Linked DNA regions of Homo sapiens: all the other regions are linked to region 5. Evidence: promoter capture Hi-C in human tissues and cell types (Jung and others, 2019). All regions are on one chromosome and are shown on one strand. The core of a region is centred on a gene start or on the middle of the fragment in contact, and the rest is flanking DNA. Distances in the headings are between cores, read along the strand shown. Region 1 overlaps PRRT1B (proline rich transmembrane protein 1B). Region 2 overlaps RAPGEF1 (Rap guanine nucleotide exchange factor 1). Region 3 overlaps RAPGEF1 (Rap guanine nucleotide exchange factor 1). Region 4 overlaps NUP214 (nucleoporin 214). Region 5 holds the start of PRRC2B (proline rich coiled-coil 2B). Region 6 overlaps RAPGEF1 (Rap guanine nucleotide exchange factor 1).

What was found. Contacts are between HindIII fragments. The study calls those that stand out against the background at their distance.
Region 1: a contact is called between a fragment that was not itself captured here and the fragment with the promoter of PRRC2B in region 5, in 2 of the 25 tissues and cell types used here (bladder and pancreas).
Region 2: a contact is called between a fragment that was not itself captured here and the fragment with the promoter of PRRC2B in region 5, in 1 of the 25 tissues and cell types used here (dorsolateral prefrontal cortex).
Region 3: a contact is called between a fragment that was not itself captured here and the fragment with the promoter of PRRC2B in region 5, in 1 of the 25 tissues and cell types used here (pancreas).
Region 4: a fragment that was not itself captured here is called in contact with the fragment with the promoter of PRRC2B in region 5 in 1 of the 25 tissues and cell types used here (pancreas).
Region 6: a fragment that was not itself captured here is called in contact with the fragment with the promoter of PRRC2B in region 5 in 1 of the 25 tissues and cell types used here (pancreas).

Annotation. Positions count from the first base shown.
Region 1 is chr9:131,550,840-131,554,398 of GRCh38, reverse strand. All of the region lies in intron 1 of PRRT1B (proline rich transmembrane protein 1B), which reads right to left. Among named protein-coding and RNA genes, the nearest start is that of PRRT1B, 7.1 kb to the right of the region's middle. RefSeq lists an enhancer at 2,483-2,984. The HindIII fragment of the contact is 6,801 bases long and covers 1-3,559 here.
Region 2 is chr9:131,643,636-131,647,520 of GRCh38, reverse strand. All of the region lies in intron 3 of RAPGEF1 (Rap guanine nucleotide exchange factor 1), which reads left to right. Among named protein-coding and RNA genes, the nearest start is that of RAPGEF1, 94 kb to the left of the region's middle. The HindIII fragment of the contact is 5,406 bases long and covers 1-3,885 here.
Region 3 is chr9:131,617,905-131,621,813 of GRCh38, reverse strand. It overlaps RAPGEF1 (Rap guanine nucleotide exchange factor 1), which reads left to right. Exons shown (of 27, transcript NM_001377935.1): 11 at 1-18; 12 at 2,608-2,763. Among named protein-coding and RNA genes, the nearest start is that of PRRT1B, 74 kb to the right of the region's middle. RefSeq lists enhancers at 293-362, 2,256-3,222. The HindIII fragment of the contact is 4,787 bases long and covers 1-3,909 here.
Region 4 is chr9:131,206,664-131,210,307 of GRCh38, reverse strand. The region is part of intron 30 of NUP214 (nucleoporin 214); the gene reads right to left. Among named protein-coding and RNA genes, the nearest start is that of FAM78A, 68 kb to the left of the region's middle. The HindIII fragment of the contact is 7,607 bases long and covers 1-3,644 here.
Region 5 is chr9:131,392,122-131,395,787 of GRCh38, reverse strand. PRRC2B (proline rich coiled-coil 2B) reads right to left here and starts at 1,702. Exons shown (of 32, transcript NM_013318.4): 1 at 1,525-1,702. RefSeq lists enhancers at 441-1,202, 2,329-2,478 and silencers at 1,009-1,298, 1,529-1,638, 1,669-1,858. The HindIII fragment of the contact is 30,479 bases long and covers 1-3,666 here.
Region 6 is chr9:131,600,907-131,604,674 of GRCh38, reverse strand. RAPGEF1 (Rap guanine nucleotide exchange factor 1) reads left to right here. Exons shown (of 27, transcript NM_001377935.1): 14 at 622-714; 15 at 2,526-2,614. Among named protein-coding and RNA genes, the nearest start is that of PRRT1B, 57 kb to the right of the region's middle. The HindIII fragment of the contact is 3,531 bases long and covers 452-3,768 here.

The sequences.
Region 1 (3,559 bases), core at 25-2,524, 160 kb before region 5:
CTGCCTTGCTGGAGTCACACAGACTGAGCGACTCATCTGGGTGGGAACCCAGGCTGCTGACCCCGCCCCTCCCCGCACTGTCCCACCCCCTTTCCTTGGCAGATGGCCTCTATTGGGAGGTAGTTTCACCCCCAACTAAGGCCTTTATGTCAAAGCTAATTGGACCAGAAAAGGATAATCCGCCCAGGGAAGCCCCTGATTGGCTGTCCTGAGATACACCTCCAATGAAGGGGACGCCTACCTGAGGAGATGAGCTGAACCAATTAGATTCTTGGCTTGGAGTTGTAGGGGAGGGGTGAGGTGCCCAGGAGCTGCCAAACTGTAGCTAGAGTAACATGGTGGAGCCAGGAGGTCACTAAGGGCCATATGCACACTGAGAATGGACACCAGAATATACAGGGCCCAGCAGCTTGAAGCCAGGGCTCAGAGCCTCAAAGCTGCCCAGCTGCCTTGCTCCCGACCCAGGCCCTGGCCTTCAGCACCCAACGATAGGTCCTGGTGGTGCCTGGTCAGGTCCCAACAAATTCTTAAGGCTGCACCTCCTGAGAGCATCCCGACCAGCTGAGCACCAGAGGGCCTCAGGCAAGGGTACAAGGAAGGCCCTGGAAGAGAATCGCAGAGTGGCCTCCCCTGACCTGCGTGGGCATTCAGGCCTCACTGCAGAAGTGGGCAGCCCAGAGCCAGGGGTCTGGCTTTGGAGGTCCATTTCCTAAGTGTCCTTAAGGGTTATAAAAGGCAGAGGGATGAGTGAAACAGACATCACACAGACATCTCAGTGGGGGTGGGAGGACCCTTCCTGAAGTCCCCCACGGGTGGAGGCAGGGATCCTTGCCAGAGTGATCCCAATGGCAGGGAATGATGAGCCCCTGGGCGTGTCCTGCCTCAACCCCCTCCCAGCAGCTAGGGGCTCACTCATGGCCCCTGCACCCCATACACCTGCCACGCTGTTTATACCTCCACACCTTTACCTGTGATGTTCCCTCTGTTTCTCCACCCCTTGGATCTGGGCTTGACCATGTGACGTGCTTTGCACAATGGCACATTGACAAACATTTTGTAAGCAGAAGCTTTAAAAACCTTTCTCTCCAGGTTAACAGGGGCTGGGGCTGGGGAGTTAGTGTTTCAAGGGTGTAGAGTTTCTGTTTGGGAAGATGAGAAAGCGTCCCAGAGATGGATAGTGGTGATGCCTGCACAACAATGTGAGTGTTCTTAATGCCACTGAATCGCACACTTAGAAGTGGTTCAAGTGGTAAATCGTATGTTATACATATTTAGCACCATTTTTTAAAAGCATGTCTTTCCAGCTGATGACAACTGAAAAGTCTAGACAAAATACAAAAAGGAAGCATCTGAGGTCACTGAAAGACAAACAAAAGCAGGGAGGTTGCGGAGTGGAGTCAAAACTTAGAGAATGGCCAGGCACAATGGCTCACGCCTATAATCCCAGCACTTTGGGAGGCCGAGGCAGGTGGATCATCTGAGCTCAGCAGTTCGAGACCACCCAGGGCAACATGATGAAACCCCGTCTCGCTAAAAATACAAAAAAAAAAAAAAAAAAATTAACCAGGTGTGGCAGCACAAGTGTCTAGTCCCGGCTACTTGGGAGGCTGAGGCAGGAGAATTGCTCAAGCCCCAGAGGTGAAGGTTGCAGTGAGCCGAGATCACACCGCTGCACTACAGCTTGGGCTACAGAGTGAGACTCCGTCTCAAAAAAAAAAAAACCTTAGAGGTTGGGCTCCCCCCCAAACTGCATGTGCAGGAGACAAACCCAGACCAGCCTAAAAAAAAACTCTGAAAACTGACCCAAGTTTGGAAATGCCACTCATAGAAGGTGAAACAGAACTTCTGGCCTGAAACTACGCAGGCTGACTGCCTCCTGAAACCAAACAAACCCACCTTCTCCAGGGAATTGTAACAGGACCAAGAATCTACACAACATACTATTCACAATGTCCAGGACACAATCCAAGACTGTTCGCCATACAGTGACCAATGCTCAAAGGAAAAGACACTCAGCAGATGCCAACCCTGAGATGACCTGATATTGGAATTTTCAGAAAAAGCAGCCATTATAACCATGCTCCATGAGGTCAAGGTAAACACACTTGGCCAGACATTGTGGCCTCCTCACAGGAGGGGGCAGTGAGCTGTGATTGAACCACTGCACTCCAGCCTGGACTACAGAGTGAGACCTTGTCCTCTCTAAAAGGGGGAAGTGGCATGTGACAAACTTTCCATGCCTCCATTTCCTCATCTGTAAAGTGAAGATAAATCACAGTAATAATCATTTTTAGAGAGGCGAACATGGCTGGATGCGGTGGCTCACTCCGGTAATCCCAGCAGTTTGGGAGGCCGAGGCGGGTGGGTCAGTTGAGGTCAGGAGTTCCAGACCAGCCTGGCCAACACAGTGACACCTCGTCTCTACTAAAAATACAAAAATTAGCCAGGTGTGGTGGCGGGTTTCACTCGTGTCCGTGTGAAGAGACCACCAAACAGGCTTTGTGTGAGCAATAAAGCTTTTGAATCACCTGGGTGCAGGCAGGCTGAGTCCAAAAAGAGAGTCAGCGAAGGGAGATGGGGTGGGCCGTCTTATAGGATTTGCGTAGGTAAAGGAAAATTACAGTCAAAGGGGGTTGTTCTCTGGTGGGCAGGAGTGGGGGTCACAAGGTGCTCAGTGGGGGAGCTTTTGAGCCAGGATGAGCCAGGAGAAGGAATTTCACAAGGTAATGTCATCAGTTAAGGCAGGAACAGGCCATTTTCACTTCTTTTGTGGTGGAATGTCATCAGTTAAGGCAGGAACCGGCCACCTGGATGTGTACATGCAGGTCACAGGGGATATGATGGCTTAGCTTTGGCTCAGAGGCCTGACATTCCTGTCTTCTTATATTAATTAGAAAAATAAAACAAAATAATGTTGAAGTGTTGGGGCAGCGAAAATTTTTTGGGGGTGGTATGGAGAGATAATGGGCGATGTTTCTCAGGGCTGCTTCAAGCGAGATTAGGGGCGGCGTGGGAACCTAGAGTGGGAGAGATTAAGCTGAAGGAAGATTTTGTGGTAAGAGGTGATATTGTGGGGTTGTTAGAAGGAGCATTTGTCGTATAGAATGATTGGTGATGGCCTGGATGCGGTTTTGTATGAATTGAAAAACTAAACGCAGGTCGGGCGCGGTGGCTCACACCCGTAATCCCAGCATTTTGGGAGGCTGAAGCGGGTGGATCATGAGGTCAGGAGATTGAGACCATCCTGGCTAACACGGTGTAACCCCGTCTCTACTAAAAATACAAAAAATTAGCGGAGCATGGTGGCGGGTGCCTGTAGTCCCAGCTACTCGGGAGGCTGAGGCAGAAGAATGGCGTGAACCCGGGAGGCAGAGCTTGCAGTGAGCCGAGATCGCGCCACTGCACTCCAGCCTGGGAAACACAGTGAGACTCTGTCTCAAAAAAAAAAAAAAAAAAAAAGAAAAAGAAAAGAAAAAGAAAAACTAAACGGAAGACACAAGGTCCGAATAAGAGAAGAAAAAAAACAGGTATTAAATGACTAAGAATTGGGAGGACCCAG
Region 2 (3,885 bases), core at 354-2,853, 250 kb before region 5:
TTATTTTACTTCAGGTCATATGCATGGCTTTCCCTGCTCAGATACGAGGGAAATGGAAGTGCAGGGAGATGAAAGTACAGATTCAGATTCGCTGCCACTTCCCGAGGGCTCCTTCTCGCCCCAGCCCTGTCCTGGGTGGTTTCAGACATGCTGTCTTATTTACTCCTCACCATAATTGTGTGGGGAAGCTTTTATTATTCCCACTGTGCAGACAGTGTTGGCCCTGGTGCACATTTTCTTGATCAAAATCTGTTTTTCTCACTATATTCTGTTGTCTTCCCAGACTGATTCCACATTAGCAGTCTCTTGCATCTTCTTAGTGAATTTAAAAATTCAAAGTACATTGTGATGAACTTCTAAACTTTTTTGCAACCTTTTAACAAGTCTAGCAGTGAGCTGCAGAGTGTTGAAGTTGTAGAGGAAATTTAGCCATATACTGGGTGTCCAAAGGTATAATTACAATGAGCAGTGAGCAGGGGGTCCTGGGAGGTGTTAATGCCCCATCTCTGAGGGCATTTGGACAGAGATTGGATCCGAGTGCTCTTGGGTGGATTCCTGAAAGCCTTTCCCCTTCAGCTCTTCCAGGGAGATGCTGCTGCCGGACAGCCTGGTGGCAGGTGGTGATTTGGTGCTCTCATTGTAACCAATGTCTGTGTTCGACATGTCTTCTTGCTAGGCCTCACTGTTCTGGACTAATAGGAATAATGTTGCATTGCCATTTTTTTTTTAATCCTGCAATTCTAGTTTTTTATTATACTGATTGTGACTTGCCCTCCCCCTCACTCCCTGGCTTTACCCACATTTTCAGGGTACACTGTCCTATAGTGTGGAAATGAGGCTTATGTTGCTGTGGAGAGGGGAGGCACCCAGGCTGCAGATGGGACAAGGAGTGACAGAGCAAGTCGGGTGTCCCGGCTGCGGCACGGCTGTGGGGAGAGAACTGTCTGGAGAGGAGGGCCAGTTTTCCTCACCCTCTTCCCCGCCATCTCCTGTGGCAGCACATGGCTGTGGAGCCACAGCCTGGGCGTCAGAAATGAATATGGCCCACGGGGCAGGAAAGGCGATGGGGATTTTATGTCCATCTCTGCCATCGGGGTCTTAGTTTACTCGTTTGTTAAATGAGATCTTTTTGACCAGGGGATCTCAAGTAAACTTTTTAACTTCAGCACATTTCTGATCTGGTCTTTATTCTCCTCTCTATCTCTCCAGGCTCTGAACTCAGACAGACCAAGTTCAAATTCCATATCTGTCACTACAGCTGTGTGGCCTTAGGCAAGTTGCTTAACCTCCCCCACGTCCCACTAAGCCTCAGTTTCCCCACCTGTGAAATAATAGTATCCACTTCACAGGGTGGTTGTAACCTTTAAACAAAATAGCCTATATAAAATCCATAGCACAGTGGGTGCCTCCATGTCCCCGATGAGTGGTAGCTACGATCTGGCCTCTTTCTTCCCTTTCAGATGTTCCCATCCTAGGCCCTCTTTCTCTGCTTTATTACTGGCAGGTATATGGTCTCTGGTGTTGGTATAGTGCCTGTTAAATGTTGTGAACCACTTCATATGCTTTCTCATTCAGTCCCCCACAGTCACCTCTTTAGTTACACGGGGCAGATGTTATTCTCCCCATTTTGTGGGTGACAAGCCCAAAGCCCAGCAGTTGGCTTTGTCTCTAAGCCATCCCCAGACACGGACAGCCTCATTTAGTTTCCAGGCTTATGTGGACCAATGATGGCAATCCATCCCCCACAGCAGGAGGGGTGCGCAGGTGAACGCACCTGCCCTCGGGTTATGCAGCGAGGCAGCTTCAGCAAAGCCAAGGCATGGAGTCCCCAGTCCGAGCCAGTGCTGGATGTGGCTGTGTGGCTGTGAACTCTCACTGCTGGCTGCATTCACAAGGATCCCCAGCTTGACAGCTGAAAGGCTGGAGAATGCACAACACCCAGAGGCCATTAATTCTGGGAGTAGAATCTGAGTTCACGGAGGCAGCCTGGCTGTGCTACATTGTTGGCTCCTTTAGGAGGAGCCCAGGACAGCCTGACTCTTAAACAGCTGATTTGATCTCTCTGCAATGACAGAAAAACTCTCTGCTCTGAAGTGCCTTGCCACTTTCGAGTGCCTCCCATCTTCAGATTAGCCACTTTCTCCCTGTGTGACCTGATGACACATTTTCTTAAAATGTTTCCTGTTCCTCAGCAAGTTTCATCATTGCTGGTCTCTAACACTTTCTGATGTGCTAAGGTGGCAGTGTTACTGTCATAGTCCTCTTCTTGCCTGGTTGACCATGGCTTTAGGCACATCTGAGGTCTGTCGGCACTGCGACTCCTTCACACTCAGGTTCCTCCCTGCCCCGGGCAGATGACATGAAGCAGAGAGCTCTTGTCCACGAGGTGGAAAAGTAAGCGCCCAGCCTCTTGGAAACAGACCGTAAACAAATCTGTCAGGTAGTGAAAAGAGAAAAATAAAGCCAGGGTGCAGGACCCAGGGATGGGGATGAGGAAGGGCACTTCCCCCACCATGGGAGAATTGTGTCTTCTAGTCTGCAGGACACCTTGTGGGAAAGACTCAATGAAAGAAATGACTGGGTCTTTTGTGCATTGTCTGACTAAAGTAGCCATTTATATATTTTTCTTTTGACATTCCCATGAAATAAAAGCCTCTACTATTGAACATTTTTATATTTAAAATGATATTCTGCACCTTTTTTTAAACTTTATTTTTTTAATTGAGACGGTGTGTCACTATGTTGCCCAGGCTGGTCCTGACTCCTGGGCTGAAGTGATCTGCCCACCTTGGCCTCCCAAAGTGCTGGGATTATAGGTGTGAGCCACTTCACCTGGCCAATCGGCACTATTTTAGAAGAAAAGAGCTAGTATTCAGAATCATAAGCACTTTTTATTAATTTCTACCATTTGTTTGTCTGTATATTGTTTAAATCACCTTTTTCTAGAAATTATCTTCTTGCCCTCAGTTTTTATTTATATCCTCTAGACCTCTGAGATCCTGCAGGTGGCTGTTTGCCTCATACACACCCCTCTTAATTTGCACTAGACATGTAATCGACTACTTGAGTACACTGTCCATTTTGGGATTTATCCATTCTGTAGACTACTCTTTTTTTTTTTTTTTTTAAAGGACAGCCTCCCAAACCAGAACAGGTTCAGAGACTCCACTTCTGTAGATTACTCTTAGCCTCCTTTTCCTGCCAGCCAGCTGAGACCTGGATCATTGACATCAGGGCAAGTAGAGGGGAAGTTGGAGAGAAGAACAAAAGGGGTGTGTAGACCCACCAACTGGATCCAAGGCCTCCCACGGTCAGGGAGAAAAGCTTGGGGTTGTGGCTTAAACACTGGAAAGCGCAGGGCTCTGTATTTTCCCTTTCTCTCAGGTGGGCTTCTCTCAGGAGCAGAGGGACCATGAATGCTGCTAGCGCCCACTGCATGAGTCGTGATTGAATCTTGAGAATCACGGTCATCTGCTCTGGCTTCTCTGCCTTTTCTCCCCAGATTTCCTGCCCCTTCTAGCCCTGGGAGCTTCCAGGCCCTTGAGGAATAGCATATCATTTCCTTGAGTGGGGGCTTCAGTGGGGTGAACAATCTGGGAACCTAGTGAGGAGTCCTGAGGGAATGGGTTTCAGCCCCTCATGCCCTGGACCAGTCTTACACAGTCTTTCAGATCTTTGAAACAAAAGCCTGGAGCTTCTTGATGTGATTTACAGGATACAGATGTACCATGGGCCTTGACTGGTGCTTCTCCAAGTCATCAGCAAATTAGTCCTCACTCTAGTTAACAGGGTTAGTGGTGGTCTGTCAGTGTGGCTGATGAGGACAGACAGGAGGATAAGTGGTTTTCAAGACCTCAGGGTCTGGAAAGGGAATTCAGAAATTTC
Region 3 (3,909 bases), core at 493-2,992, 230 kb before region 5:
CCCAAGCAGCGGCAGCTGGTGAGTGACACCTTCCCTTGTGACTAGAACTTCCGATCCTAGCAGGTCTCTAGGAACCAGAATGACCCTCCTTGGGGGCAGGGTTAACCCTCCTCCCTGCTGTGGCAGGGCCCTGGTTTTGGGCGTGGAAGGCACCATCTCCCACACAGATGCTTTTACTTCCTCCTTAGATGCTCACCAGCAGCCCAGCGCCCACTCCACCACCTCCCCACCCTGGGGTGCAGGGACCTTTCTTTTCCACAGCAGCCCCGCGCAGCAGGGACAGGCTTGTACTCAGGGTGTTTGCTCTCTCTGCTGACAGTCTCTTGTATTTTTTTCTTTCTTCTTTGGCTTCAACATAGACCTCCCAGAAAGGAGGGACTCAATCAAAGCACAGGACATGGTCTGTGCACAGCCATCTGTGGACTTGATTGGCATAATGGGCCTAACTGTGTAGAGTGACTTACAACCCAGCCTTGGCCGGGGAGGGCCCAAGGAAAACAAGTGCCATTGAAGTGGAGGATGGCTTTAAACAGAGCCACTCTGTTTCAGACATGGCACCTTCCTCTTCTAGAAAACACTCGTGTGCTAAGGACTCCTGTGCATGTAAGGAAGCACGGGCCAGCACAGAAGGCAAGCTGTTCCACCGTGGGCACCCCATGAGGCTCTGGAACTGCCCAGGCACTGGGAGGGTGAGCAGATCGGGGGTACCTGTGGCATCCCTCCAAACTTTCTCCCTTTGCTGCCAGTTAATGAACATGGAGGGCCCTAGTCAGGTTTGAAGATCTGAGCCTCTTGTCCAGCCATGCTCCCCAGGAAGAGGAAGCTCCCCAGCAGGGAGCTCCAGGCTTGTTCAGAGCTGCCTGGGCTGCTGCTCTCGTGTGCTGGCCAGTCTGGTGGCTTCTACCAGGAGGCGACTGGTGTGCACTGGGCCATCTTTTATCCATTGCGAGAGGACATGAGGGGCCATCTGATTCTTCTGGGAGGCAGCTGCAGACTGGAGGACAAATGTCCCTGGATTACTCCGTATAATCAATCACCTGGGGCTCAGCCCAGTCCCAGGAGTTCCTGAGCCTTCCTATACTCAGTGGGCTGTGGCTAACCAAGCAAGCTGTTTTGTTTCCACTCAAAAACCACACTCAGCCACTTCAGAGGTGGCCATGTCCAGTAGAGGAAAGGCCAAGCTTGGAGTTGGGAGTCCTGAATTCCAGTCCTGCCACTTGTTAGCCGTGTCGCACGTGCCATTTTCAGAGTCTCAGATCCTCACCTGCCCTGCCCGTCCCACAGACACAATTGAGAATGTGAATCTCAATTGCTCTGAAGATGTTTCAAAAAGGGTCCCACCATGGAAACATAAATGCCTCATTTAGAGACCCCTTGCCTAAAATGTTTGGTTAGAACTGTTGCCGAGAGCCAGGAGTGGTGGTGGCACATGCCTATATTCCCAGCTACTTGGGAGGCTGAGGTGGAGGATCACTTGATCCCAGGAGTTCAAGACCAGCCTGGACAACATAGTGAGACCCTGTCTAAAAAAAAAAAAAAGCCATTGCTGAGCCAGATTTATTGAAAATATTTTCGGCCCATTTGCCATCCTTGGGCATCTTCTCCATACTGTGGAGTCCACAGGCTTCTGAATATTTGGGGAGACACCCCTAGGGAGCACGTGGAATCAGAACCTGTTCTACCACGCCTGCAGGGCAGTGGCGAGCTCAGCCCCCGGAGGCCTGTTAGGAACATCTGTGTTGAACACCTCCCCAGGTAAGCACCAGGGCTCTCATCTGGCTCTACATGGTCCCTGCCACAGCTCCTGGCATCCCCATTATAAGTAAATTGAGGCAGACAGAGCCAGCGAACCTTAATCCAAGCCCACAGCTAGAAACAGAAGACCTGGGAGCCACACCCAATCCTAATGACAGCCCAGGCATACCACCTGACAGGTCCTGCCAGCTGCTGGTCACACCCTCTCTCAAATGCAGATGCAGGAAGCGTTATCCACACTTCACAGACAAAAATGGTGCTCATTACACACACCTGTTGGCCCATGTACAGTGTGGTAAGCAATATTTCAAGTGCTTCACACGTATCATCCCATTTCATCCTCCCAACAGCCCTGTACAGGAGACACTAGGGTTATCCCCATTTTACAGATGGAAAACCTGAGGCACGGAGACCTTTAAGTAGTGCCCAAGGCCAAACGGGTGAGAAATGGCAGGGTCCAGACTCAAACCCAGGCTGCCGGAGCCCCGTCTGAGTTCTGAAGACGTGTGAATGACACATGGATCCACTCCCCACAGAGGAGCAGCTCCAAGCCCAGAGTCAGCCCAGTTCTGTGTGGCTCCAGCCCCCTCGTCCTCCTTCCACCCAACCTGCTTCCAGTGGACACAATTTTTAGGATCTAGTGTAAGGAAATGAAGGAGGGTGCCCTTTCATGCAGATGGCCTTCGGCAGCTGGTTTTAGTCCCTGAACTGGGCCCAGAAGCCATCCCTCTCCAGAACGTCTGTTAGAGGATGTGGAGAGCAACCTCCACGGCCTTTCCCTGCACGGACCTGACTGTTCTCTGCTTCTCTCCCTCCTTCCCTGCCTTCTCTCTCCTCCCCTCTGTCCAGCAGGCCTCCTGTGCTGCTTCTTCCTTCTCCTCTGTCTCCCACTGTGTCCAGCAAACTAAAGTGGCCTTCACCCCCGAGGACGGCAGTGCCGCTCAGGGCCTCAGTGTGTCCGTCTCTAACTCCTTTCTCAGCCGGCACGGCAGCTTGCCCGTGCCCTCGGTGAGTTGCTCCCTGCTGTTCTTTACTTGGAAACGCGTGAACAGGGCCGTTCCTTGGAAGCGTGTGCCTCAGCCATGTGTTCTGCTGCCCGTCGCGGCCCCTGCCCTTCTGCGGGTCCCTACACCTAGATGGGAAGGCTATGAATGGTTGGTTCTCTGGGGCCTTAAAGACCATGAGGCATCCAGGTGAGGCAGGGGCAGGCATGGGAAATGTGAGTGGCCACCTTGGGAGCATCACCAGTCTGGCATAAACTGACAGAGACATTTTAGCCTTTTTATCCCAATCTCGCTTTGGACCTTGGATCAGCCCTCTGTGTTCCAGGATTAAAAAGGAATATAGCCAGGTGTGGTGTCACTCACCTGTAGTCCCCACTCCTCAGGAGGCTGAGACAGGAGGATCACCTGAACTCCAGAGTTCAAGTCCAGCCTGGGCAACATAGTGAAACCCTGTCTCAAAATAAATAGATAAGATAGATGAGATGGATGAGTAGATGGGTGGTACTATTCCTCACGTAGAAAGCCAGGTCGAGGAGAGCAGGCTTCACTAGCGCAGGATGGTTTGACTCTCAGGGATGTATTAGTTTGCTTTTGCTGCATAACAAACCACCCAAAACTTGGTGGCTTAAAATAATAGTGAGCATTTGTCACTGCTTAGGACAGGGGGTAGCAGGATGGGTGTGCTGCTCTGGCCCAGGCTTGGCCAATTTTGGCTGAACTCACTGACATCCCTGGGACCTGAGCTGAGACAATGGGGCTGATTTGGCTGTGACCCATGTAGTCTGTCACTTCCATCAGGCTGGCCTGGGCTTGTTCACATGACAGCTGGCGGGCTTCCAAAAATAACAAATGGAAGCGTGCAAGGCCCCTTAGGGCCTCAGCTCAGAAGTAGTGTGATGCCTGTTCCATTGCATTTGCTCAGTTAAATTACAAGGCCAGCCCAGATTCAGGGAGCAGGGAAGTTGCTTCTGCCTCTTGATGGTAGTTGCTACTAAGTCATGTTGCACGGGGCATGGGTCCAGGAAGGGAATGGGCTGCAGCCATTTGGGTAAACAGTTTACTGCTGAAGCCTAGGGGCTGACACTGAAGAGGGGAGTCTTTCACTGGCATCTGCGCATGTCCAGGAACCAAAATGGCCACCATTCTCCCT
Region 4 (3,644 bases), core at 344-2,843, 190 kb after region 5:
TTCCTTATTCAACCACTGTTTCAACTATTTTCCCATAAGCCCTATGAACATGACAGTTAAAGTCTGTCTCCAGTTCCAATATCTGAATCATCTATAGGTTGGTTTTTGCTGATTTTAAAAATTTAATTGTGGGTGTCACTCTCTTTTTTGGTTGCTCTGTATGTTTGTATTATGGAAGAACAGTGGTGACTGAAGAACATTAATGCTTTTCCTAGAGAGTGAGAGCTCCCATTTCGTCTGATTAAAGTGAGGAAATAATTATTCAGATTTCACTAAGGGTTGATCTGGAACAGAGTCACAGATTTAAGAAGACTGAGCTCACCTCTGGTTAGCCCAACAGTCTCCACTTAGGTTTTAGGTTATTGGTCTGTAAGTATCTGAGGTGGGAGGCAAGAGGAAGTATCACCTTTCAAACAAGAGTTCCAGAAAACAGGAGAATGTAAGACCCTGTGAGTTCTTTCTACTTTTTAGTGCTGCTTTAGTTCCTTTTTCTTTGCAAAGTTGGGGAGGATTAGCGGGGGAGAGCTGGAGGATATGTATGCTGAATAAATTATTGTTGCACTTACAAGTCTTTCAGATCCCAATCTGAGTTTTTAATTTTTATATCTGACTGAGGCCAGGTGTAGTGGCTCACGCCTGTAATCCCAGCACTTTGGGAGGCCGAGGCAGGCAGATCACCTAAGGTGAGGAGTTCGAGACCAGCCTGGCCAACATGGTGAAACTCCAACTCTACTAAAAATACAAAAAGTAGCCAGGTGTGACAGTGAACACCTGTAGTCCCAGCTACTACTTGAGAGGCTGAGGTGGGAGAATTGATTGAACCTGGGAGTCGGAGGTTGCAGTGAGCTGAGACTGTGCCACTGCACTCCAGCATGGGCGACAGAGCAAGACTCCGTCTCTAAATAAATAAATAAATTTGACTGACTGAGACAGGGTTCTCACTTTGTCACCCAGGCCAGAGTGCAGTGATAGGAACATAGCTCACTGCAGCAGCCTTGACCTCCCGAGCTCAAGTGATCCTCCCACCTCAGCCTCCTTAGTAGTTGGGACTACAGGCATGCACTGCCACGCCCAGCCAACTTGTGGGTCTTTTTTTTTGTAGAGATGGAATTTTGCCATGTTGCCCAGGCTAGTCTCAAACTCCTGAGCTCAAGCAATCTGCCCATCCCAGCCTCCCAAAGTGCTGGGATCACAGGTGTGTGTGCCACTGCGCCCAGCCTTAGCATATGGTTTTCAAAGTTTATCTATATGTAGCATGAATGAGAACTTCATTCCTTTTTATTATTTATTTTTTTGAGATGGAGTCTCACTCTGTCGCCCAGGCTGGAGTGCAGTGGCGTGATCTCGGCTCACTGCAACCTCCGCCTCCTGGGTTCAAGCGATTCTCCTGCCTCAGCCTCCCAAGTAGCTGGGACTACCGGCGAGCTTCACCATGCCCAGCTAATTTTTGTTTTTAGTAGAGACGGTGTGTCACCATGTTGGCCAGGATGGTCTCCATCTCTTGACTCATGATATGCCTGCCTCAGCCTCCCAAAGTGCTGGGATTAAAGGTGTGAGCCACCATGCCCAGCCGAGAACTTCATTCCTTTTGTTTTTGTTTTGTTTTGTTCTGAGACGGAGTCTCGCTCTGTCGCCCAGGCTGGAGTGCAGTGGCGCGATCTCGGCTCACTGCAAGCTCTGCCTCCTGGGTTCATGCCATTCTCCTGCCTCAGCCTCCCGAGTAGCTGGGACTACAGGCACCCGCCACCACGCCTGGATAATTTTTTGTATTTTTAATAGAGACAGGGTTTCACTGTGTTAGCCAGGATGGTCTCGATCTCCTGACCTCGTGATCCGCCCGCCTCAGCCTCCCAAAGTGCTGGGATTACAGGCGTGAGCCACTGCACCCGGCCAAGAACTTCACTCCTTTTTATGGCTGAAAAATATCCCATGGAATGTATATACCACATTTTGTTTATCCATTCATCTGCTGTTTGACACTTGGGTTGTTTCCACCTTTTGGCTACTGTGAATAATGCTGCAATGAACATTGATGTACAAGTATTTGTTCGAATCCCTTTTTTTCAATTCCTTTGGGTATTCTACCCCAGAGCAGAATTGCTGGGTCATATGGTAGAAGTACTATATTTAGCTTTTTGAGAAACCACCAAACTATAGTAGCTGCACAATTTTGCATTCCCATCAGCAATGTATGAGGGTTCTAATTTCTTTGTATCATTGCTAACACTGGTTATTTTTATTTTTTACTTTTTAAATGATAGCCATCCTAGGGGGTGTGAAGTGGTATCTTATCTAATTGTGGTTTTGATTTTCATTTCCCTCATTAGTTTAATGCTACTTGATCACCTTTTCATGTAATTACTGGTCATTTATTTTGCTTGCCCCCATCACTGCCAACAGCTCCTTCTCCAGCCAGTACATTTTCTCAGTCTTTGGCAAGTCCTCTCTACTACCTGCTCAAACCCAGACCTGGCATCTGCCCCCAGCAGCTGCTGTGCCACAGTGCTCACACCTATGATGGGCTCCACTCTCTGGAAACCAGTTCAACAAGGCTTTCTGCCACTCTTCAATGGTCCCATTATGACAGATATTTTCCAAAGATGATCACAGCAATACTTCTAGTCACATATGCTCTTCTAGAGCAAGAGGCGGCCTCTGTATCTCCTCTTGAACCTGGATGGGACTTTGTGAGTGCCTTGATGAAGAGGATGCAGCCTAAGTGATGTTCTGTGACTTCTGAGGATAGGTCATAAAAGGTTATACAGCTTCAGCATGGCTCTTCCTCTTTCTTGGAATGTTCCTCCTTGGAACCTAGCCACCACGTTGTGAGGAAGCCCAGGCTACATAGGCCAAATGTAGGTGTTCAGCTAACAGCTCCAGCTAAGGTCTGAGCCAACAGCCAAGCCAACCACTGACATCAGAGTGAGCCTTCAGATGACTCCTGCCTCCAGTCTTCCCTTCTTCCAGCTGAGATCACAGATACTGTGAAGACAAGCCATCCCTACTAAGTCCATCTGAAGTTATGACCTACAGAATCCAAGACTATAATAAATAAGTAGCTGTTGCAGGCTACTAGGTTTTGAGGCAATTTGTTATACAGCAGTAAATAATTCCAATACTGCCAGAGTAAGTGTGACTTCTACATCATCTGGATTTTTCTTGGTGTTATTATGGCAGTGAAGGTTTTCTATATTCTTTTACATCCTAGCCAGAATCTGCCTAGCATCTTTAGAGTTTTCTGAGGATACTTCTGCTACCTGAAAGTTCATTCATTTCCACAATGCCTATCATGTGCCAGACATAGTCCTAAGCATTGGAGATACAGCAATCAATAAAAACAATAAGGCCCCTGCCATCATAGAAAAAACCTTGATTTCAATCTTTGGCCCTTCCAATTGCATACATAATTTCCGTGGTGGAAGAATACGGAGTGGAAGGGGAAGTAACAATATGGAGTTTATCACAGTGATGTTTTCTATTTCTTTGGCTCAACATTGTGCTTGTTAGTTATACATGGAGCTGAAATCTGCTCCTTTTCATAGCTGGATAATATTCTACTATGAGACCAGGTATGGTGTCTCATGCCTGTAATCTCATCAGCACTTTGGGAGGTCCAGGTGGGAGGATCACTTGGGCCAGGAGTT
Region 5 (3,666 bases), core at 453-2,952:
CCCGAGAGGCTCAGCACTGTATAAGCGCCCACTAATGTTTGGGCCTTGAATTCCTTCTGTATTGTCCATGCCTTAGGCCAGCACCTGTGGCATCCATGGGCACAGTTTGGCTCTATGGGTGGCACCACAAGGGGCTCACGTCTGTCCTAGGACTTGACAGCAGTTATACCAACAACCGTAGGAGGAACCACTAACTGTGCCAGGCCCTCTGCTAGGCCCTTCACCGCTGCCCAAACCTGCCAGGTGGAGGGTGCACGCCCCGATTTATGCAGATGAAGCCTCAGACAGCCCCAGAGTCACTAGGTTTACGGAAGAAAGAAGCAGGATCTGCACCCCAATGCCTGGGCCTCCCCAGTCCCACCTTACACCACAGCGCTGTGCATAGACATGACTAAATGGCTGCAGCGAGATTCGGAAAAACCATGCTAAGACCGCACACAATTGGTTACAAAAACCAAACTGGATGACACTGTACAAAGCCACATCAAATGCACACTAAACCTTAAAGAAAAAAAAAATCTTAGGGAAAGTTTAACAGTCCTGTAAACCAAAGGCATTTAAAGATTTCTCCCAGGAAGCCATTTAGCAAAAGACACTCCCCAGCCCCCCTTCTCCCACTTCCTTCAAGCTCACCACTGAAAACACCTCCAATTCTTGCCTAAAGGTGGGCTCCGACCTCCCACGATATTTAGAAGGAGGAAAAAAGAAAAAGGAAAAAAATCCACCTCTTAAGGCAAATCCACTCTTCAGAGGCCCACAGTTTCAACAGGGCTGAATTTCTCTCCTGGGGGTTGAGGGGAGGCAAAAGAGGAGGAAAAAAAAAAAAACCCCATCTGGCAGGCCCCGAGTGGCGACATCCTGTTTATTATTAAACATTTTTAGCATGGAGCATTCAGCATTTCGAAAATAACCCTCTGGTTCCCGCACTCACACCGAGACTGGGCGGCCGCTCGCCTCCCTCCCCCAGCCGCCAACTTTAGCGCCGCCGGGGCCCGGCCCACCCCGCGCCAGGAACGGCCCCGCGAACGCCGCTCAGCGCCCCGGACCCAAGGCCCGACCCCGCAGGATCCCGCCTCGGGCGCGCTGCTCCGTCAATTGGGCGGGGCGGGGAGCAAAGACGCCGGCCCCAGAACCCCGAGACCCGGCTGCGGGCCCGGGACCCCCGCCCCTCCGGCCTCTGCAGCCCGGCCCGGCCTCGGGGGTACGGGGGTGGCGGGCGAGCCCTGAGGGAGTCGCGCGGCCCCTGGACCCCGCCCGAGCCTGAGGCCGCGCGGCGCCGCCACAACAATGGCGAGCGCGCCCGGGCCCGCCGCCCCCAGGCCCCGCGGCCTCCCAGCCCCGCAGCCCCGCGCCCGGCGGGAAGGAGGCGGCGGCGGCCGCGCTCGCGGACAAAGGTCGGGCAGGGCCGCAGGGCCCCCGGGCCCCCGGCGGCGGCCGCGGGAGACAAAGCCCGGCCGGGCCGCGCCGCCTCCATCTTAGCGCCGCCGCCCCCACGCCCCGGCCCCGGCCCCGGCCCCGACCCACCTGGTCTGGTTCCGCGGGCGCGGCCGGGCCGGGCGATGGCAGTCGGGCGGCGGTCGGGCACGGGGGCGGCGGGATGGCGGCGGATTGCGAGGCGGCGGCGCGGGCTGCTCGCTCGCTCGCTCCCTCCCTCCTCCCGGGCTCGCTCGTCGCTGCGCGGTGGAGCCTCGGCGCCTGTCTCGCCGCTCGCTCCCTCGCGCTCGGCTCCCCGCCCCCCGCCTGCCGCCGCCCCCGCCTCCTCGTCCTCCTCCTCCCGCCGCCGCCCGCAACCTGGGCCCGCGCAGCGCCCCCTGCCGCGCCTCCCGGGAGCGGCGGCCTTGGGATCGGCCCGGGGGCCGGGCGAGGGCTGGGGCCAGGGGGGAGGGGCGGGGAGCGGCGGGAGGGGGCTGGGAGGGGGCTGGGAGTGGGGAGGGGCCCGGGGACGGCGGGAGAGGCGGGAGAGAACGGGGCAGAGCGGGGATCGGGGAGGAGACCCGGAGGAGGGGCCAGGAGCCAAGAGAAGGGGCCTGGGAAGGGCATGGGCCCGGCCTGGGCCCGGGGGAAGGGCGCCCGGAAAGAGGGGGAAGGGATGGAGGGGGCAGTGACGGGGGAGCGAGCCCGGATCTCCGCCCCCTCCCCCTTCAAAACTGCAGCGCCTCAGAACAGACTAAGCCCGGATTTTGTTAAAATATGTATACGGTATATGAACGGAAAGGAAGCAGAAATAATACTTTTTTCATTTCAAAAGCAAGGTTGTTGCACAATATGGGTACTTTGTCCCATTTTTACAAAATGAAAACTAATAAGCCCCTCCTCTTGAGTGTTGTGTGTTTGTGTGATTGCAAAACAAAAGGTCCGGGAGACTGCACTCCTGTCTTGGTTACCTCCGTGGTTTGAGGTTGGGAGAGCGGAGGAGGGTTCTTACTTTTTTAGACACCTAACCAACTATAAAAGCAATTTCAAAAAGCAAATACAAAAAAAAAATGTTAGGGCCTGGCACCCAAATCATCCCACCCTCTTCCAGTCACGGTTGCTCTAAGCACCAGCTGCGGGCCATGCCCTATGCTAAAGCACGTGGTTTGTCTCACTTAATCCTAACCCAGGGGCAGATATTATTGTTCTAATTCACAGGTGAGACAAAGGAGGCTTTGAGAGAATGTGCCCCAGGCCACACTGCTGGACCCAGAAGGAAAATTAACCCACTTCAGCCTAACTCCAGAACTGAGGCTGGTGAACAAAGCTTAGTTTTTGGGGAGTAGAATTCTGGATACTTTTATAGCCTTATTTATAATTCTCTGAATTTTCCTACATTTTATCCATGGTCATTTTCAGTGTTATCCTTTTTTTCTTTTTTCTTTTTTTTTTTTTTTGAGACAGTCTCGCTCTGTCCCCCAGGCTGGAGTGCAGTGGCACAATCCGCAATCTCTGCTCACTGCAACCTCCAACTCCTAGATTCAAGCGATTCTCCTGCCCCAGCCTCCTGAGTAGCTGGGATTACAGACATCTGCCACCATGCCCAGCTAATTTTTGTATTTTTGGTAGAGATGGGATTTCACCATGTTGGCCAAGTTGGTCTGGAACTCCTGCGCTAAAGTGATCCACCTACCTTGGCCTCCCAAAGTGTTGGGATTACAGTGCCGGCCACTCTGTTTTACATCATCAAATCTGCATTATTCCCCTGCCAATGTCTTCAATATTTCGCTATCTCTACAAAACAGGGAGGATGTAACCCTAATTTTTGTTTTCGATTTTGTTCCTTGACCATCTTCAGGAAGGCCATAGAATTGGCCCAGTGCTCAAAACCCAGCAACTAATAAAAATGATAGAAGGCAAATAAACAAATAAAAAATAAATTAAATAAATAAACTGAGCCTCAGGTTCTTCATCTGTAAGGCTGGCGCAGTGGCTAACACCTGTAATCCCACCACTTTGGTAGGTCGAGGCAGGTGGATCATGCGGTCAGGAGTTCAAGACCAGCCTGACCAATATGGTGAAACCCCATCTCTACTAAAAATACAAAAATTAGCCAGGCATGGTGGCAGTCGCCTGTAATCCCAGCTACTTGGGAGGCTGAGGCAGAAGAATTGCTCAAACCCGGGTGGCGGAGGTTGCACTGAGCCGAGATCATGCCACTGCACTCCAGCCTGGGTGACAGAGTGAGACTCC
Region 6 (3,768 bases), core at 968-3,467, 210 kb before region 5:
ATCTGATTTTCCACAAATGGATTAGTGGCCATTTAGAGAGGAACTTATCAGACGCATAAGATACAAAATGCTACTAGCTTTCCATTTACTTGTCTGTTTTTAGGGAAAGGTACAAAGCCCTTCGCAAGTGTGGAGGTGACAGATTCAGGACAAGTGTCTGTTCGGTTGCATGTGGTGCCGATGACAGAAGCCTGGTCTCTAGCCTGTTAAAGTGCCTGTAGCGCTTCGTCCAACTCAGAGAAATGCTGCCTTGCAGATTGGAGCAGACAAGTACATGGGGCAGAGGAAGTGCAGGCAGCGGACCCCACTCCCCAGTATGTGGGATTGTCTTGATGTGTTGCTTCTCTCCCTCCATAATCGTTTCCCGCCACACTGGGGACCCCTGCTGTCTCCACTACAGTGGGGCCATCTCTCCAGGATGATTTAGCCCCAGACACCATTGGAGGGGCAGCAGCAGGAGACTTGGATCCCCTCTAGCACAGAGGCAAGAGGTGGCAAAAGCAGCTTTGCTCTCTGCACCTGGGAAGACCAGAGTGCAGGCTGTGGCATCCCCTGGCCAGCTGTGAGGGCCGGCTGGAGGGCCTGGCCCATGTGTCTTTCCTCTCGTCCTGTCTCCCCCAGAGTGAAAACGCCAGTGAGGAAGCTGGTGAGGGTGAATATGTCAATCTGTATTCCTCTGGCCAGAGCAGCGAGGAGCTGGCTCCCTCTCGAGGAGTAAGTAACCTCGGGCGGCCTCCTGCATGTGGCCTGGCCTGGTGGGGCTTGGGCTCTGCCCTCCCGAGGCCGCTTCCCCCGCACCTGCTTCTGTTGGGCTGAGCCCCCTCCTAGTCACCAGCAGACTGGGCTCCTGCAGGCTGCTGGGAGCCAGCTCGGCCCTTTGGAGAGGACGTGGCTTCCAGGTGGAGGTCTGCCCTTTGCTCCTGCTTCAGTGCGTGTGGCACTCCTCAGAGCCTGGCCAGATGGGTCATCTAGAAATCTCTGGGACCAGCGTGGCACGGGCCCCGGCTGTGTATCTAGTGCTCTCTGTGGGGTTCCTTCCTCCCTTATCTTCTGGTGTTGGCTTCATCTTCTGTCCCTCATGCAGAGGGAGGGACTCTTCTTCCCATAGGGCCTTTCAGACCTTCATCTCCCTCCCCAGCATGTCCCATTGCTCCAACACTGACTGCTTCTGAGGAAGCGGGTGAGTCTGGCCCATAGCCCCTGCCATGACTATGCACACCCCCTCCTGAGGGAGCCACAAGGTACCCGACGTCAGCACCCTCGTGATGCTGCTGCCCCAGCTCCCGACCATCGCGGTACAGCAGTTCTATTGAGCAATCCACTTTCCACATTTTGCTTCAGCCAAACATGAGCAAGTTCAAAAGCTTCAGAAATTGCTCCCCCCATGAGCCCAGGTGGGACAGGTTCCTTGAAGGGAGGCCCATGAGGGCTGGAAGACTCCCAGTGATCCACCCCAGGGCGGGCCCCCACCCGTGAAGAGCTTGGTCACACCCGTTCAGGTGGTTCTCTCAGCAGGGTCCCCACAGGGGTTCAGAGGCCCACCCAGAGCCAGCCCTGTTTCAGACATTAGCAGGTTATAGAACATTGAAGAGTGTCCACTCCAGTGGGATTTGACCCAGTCCATGGGAGCTGTCTCCTCTGCTGACATGTGCATCTGGCACCCCCCGGCTCAGCCTCCCCATGGTGAAGTCCACGTGCAGGTAGAGGCCAGCTTCGCATGGCTCTCTCCCTCCACTGTGACACTTCCAGGGCTCACTGGCTCCTTGCCTTGAAGCACTCTTTCTGTATTTGTCCTGCCCCAGTTCTCCATCAGGCTCAGCAGCAGACCAGGGATGTTGGCGGGCCATGTTGTCACTGAGTAGGGCCAGCCCAGGGACCCAGGAGGAAGCAAGTCTGCCGGAGGAAGAGGGGACTGGCACCCCAGGGCCTGAGAGCTGGCCCTTTGGGGACTGAACCCGGTTGAGCACTGCAGCCCTGAGGACTTCTTTAAATCAGCAGAGTTTGGTTCACGACAGCAGGGCCCAGTGGTTAAGGGCACAGGCTTTGCAGGTAGATAGCCCTGGGTTCAAATCCAAGCTCTGCTGTTTATGAGCTGTGTGGTCTTGAGCAGGGTCCTTGACTTCTGGCCTCTGTTTCTATGCATGGAGTGGGGACGATGGTGTTAGCTCACTGACGAAGTCAAATGAGGAGAAGTGGGCACAGCCTAGAGCCCAGTCCCTGGCTGTGCTCGGGGGGAGTGGCTATGACAGTCTTCTTTGAGGAGGTAGTTGAGGTGGCTTTGCCTAGGTTGGCAGCTTACAGATGAGACAAATAGTGGCACCTTTCACTTTCTCCAAAGGCCACATGCTAGTCTTGAGGGCTTGTGTTTCCTGTGATTAACGGCATTCATCTTTAATTTGTTCACATCTGAGATTGCTCCATAGGAACTTGCACTCCACAGCCACTTGCAGGCAGGAATGCTGGGAAGACAGAGCAGCCCCGCAGAGGGCCCCTGTCCAGAACTCAGCACCCACTCCTCTTTCCAGGAGCCACCGGCTGGGAAAGACGGACATCCCAGAGATCCCTCAGCGGTCAGCGGCGTCCCTGGGAAGGACAGCAGAGACGGCAGTGAGAGGTAGGAAGTGGACCCAGAGGAGCTGGGTCCCCCGAGAGCAGTGCGCCCACTCATGAGGCCTGCCTGAGCAGCCTCTCCCAGCTAGCCCCTAGGCCTGAGGGTATTTCAAGTTGAAACTCTTCCTTCTTTCCTTATTTCCTTTTTTTGTTTTTTAGAGACAGGGTATTGATCTGTTACCCAGACTGGAGTGCAGTGGCACAATTGCAGCTCACTATAACCTTGAACTCCCGGGCTCAAGCGATCCTCCCACCTCAGCCTCCCAGATAGCTGGGACTACAGGCATGCAGTACCACGCCCAGCTGATTGTTTTAGTTTTTTGTAGAGACGAGGTCTCGCTATGTTGCCTAGGATGGTCACTAACTCCTGGCTTCAAGCGATCCTCCCACATCAGCCTCCCAAAGTGCTGGGCTTACAGGCATGAGCCACTGTACCTGGCCCTCTTCCTTTTTTTCTGATTCTCAAATAATACAAGCTCAGGATAGAAACTGTTGAAAAGCATAGAAAACTGCAAGAAAGCAAGAAAAATCACTAATAACCCCACCCTGCAAAGGCCTTCACATGTAGTTTGCCATTACTTCTTGATTGTTTGCACCTATATTATCTACCTTACAAATTACCCACGATAGCCTTGTCTTTTCTTTTTCAAATCCCAGGCCAACCTCCCTTGGTCTTGGCCTCTTTCAAGTTGATAGGGAGTGTAAAAGACACCCCCTCCACTTACAAACTTGTTATCAGGGACATTTCTAGACATATGTGTGCATGTGATGTTGCTAACAAGAATGTCTTGTATATCTTAATTTTTTGCAGCCAAGATCAGGAGCTGTTCATTGCATTTAGTCATTACAGCTCTTTAATGTCTTATAACTTTTTTTTTTTTTTTTTTTTTTTTGAGACGGAGTCTCACTCTGTCGCCCAGGCTAGAGTGCAGTGGCGCGATCTCGGCTCACTGCAACTTCCGCCTCCCGGGCTCAAGCGATTCTCCCGCCTCAGCTTCCCAAGTAGCTGGGACTACAGGCATGTGCCACCATGCCCGGCTAAGTTTTTATTTATTTATTTATTTTGTATTTTTAGTAGAGACGGGGTTTCACCATGTTAGCCAGGATGGTCTCAATCTCCCGACCTCATGATCCACCTGCCCCAGCCTCCCAAAGTGC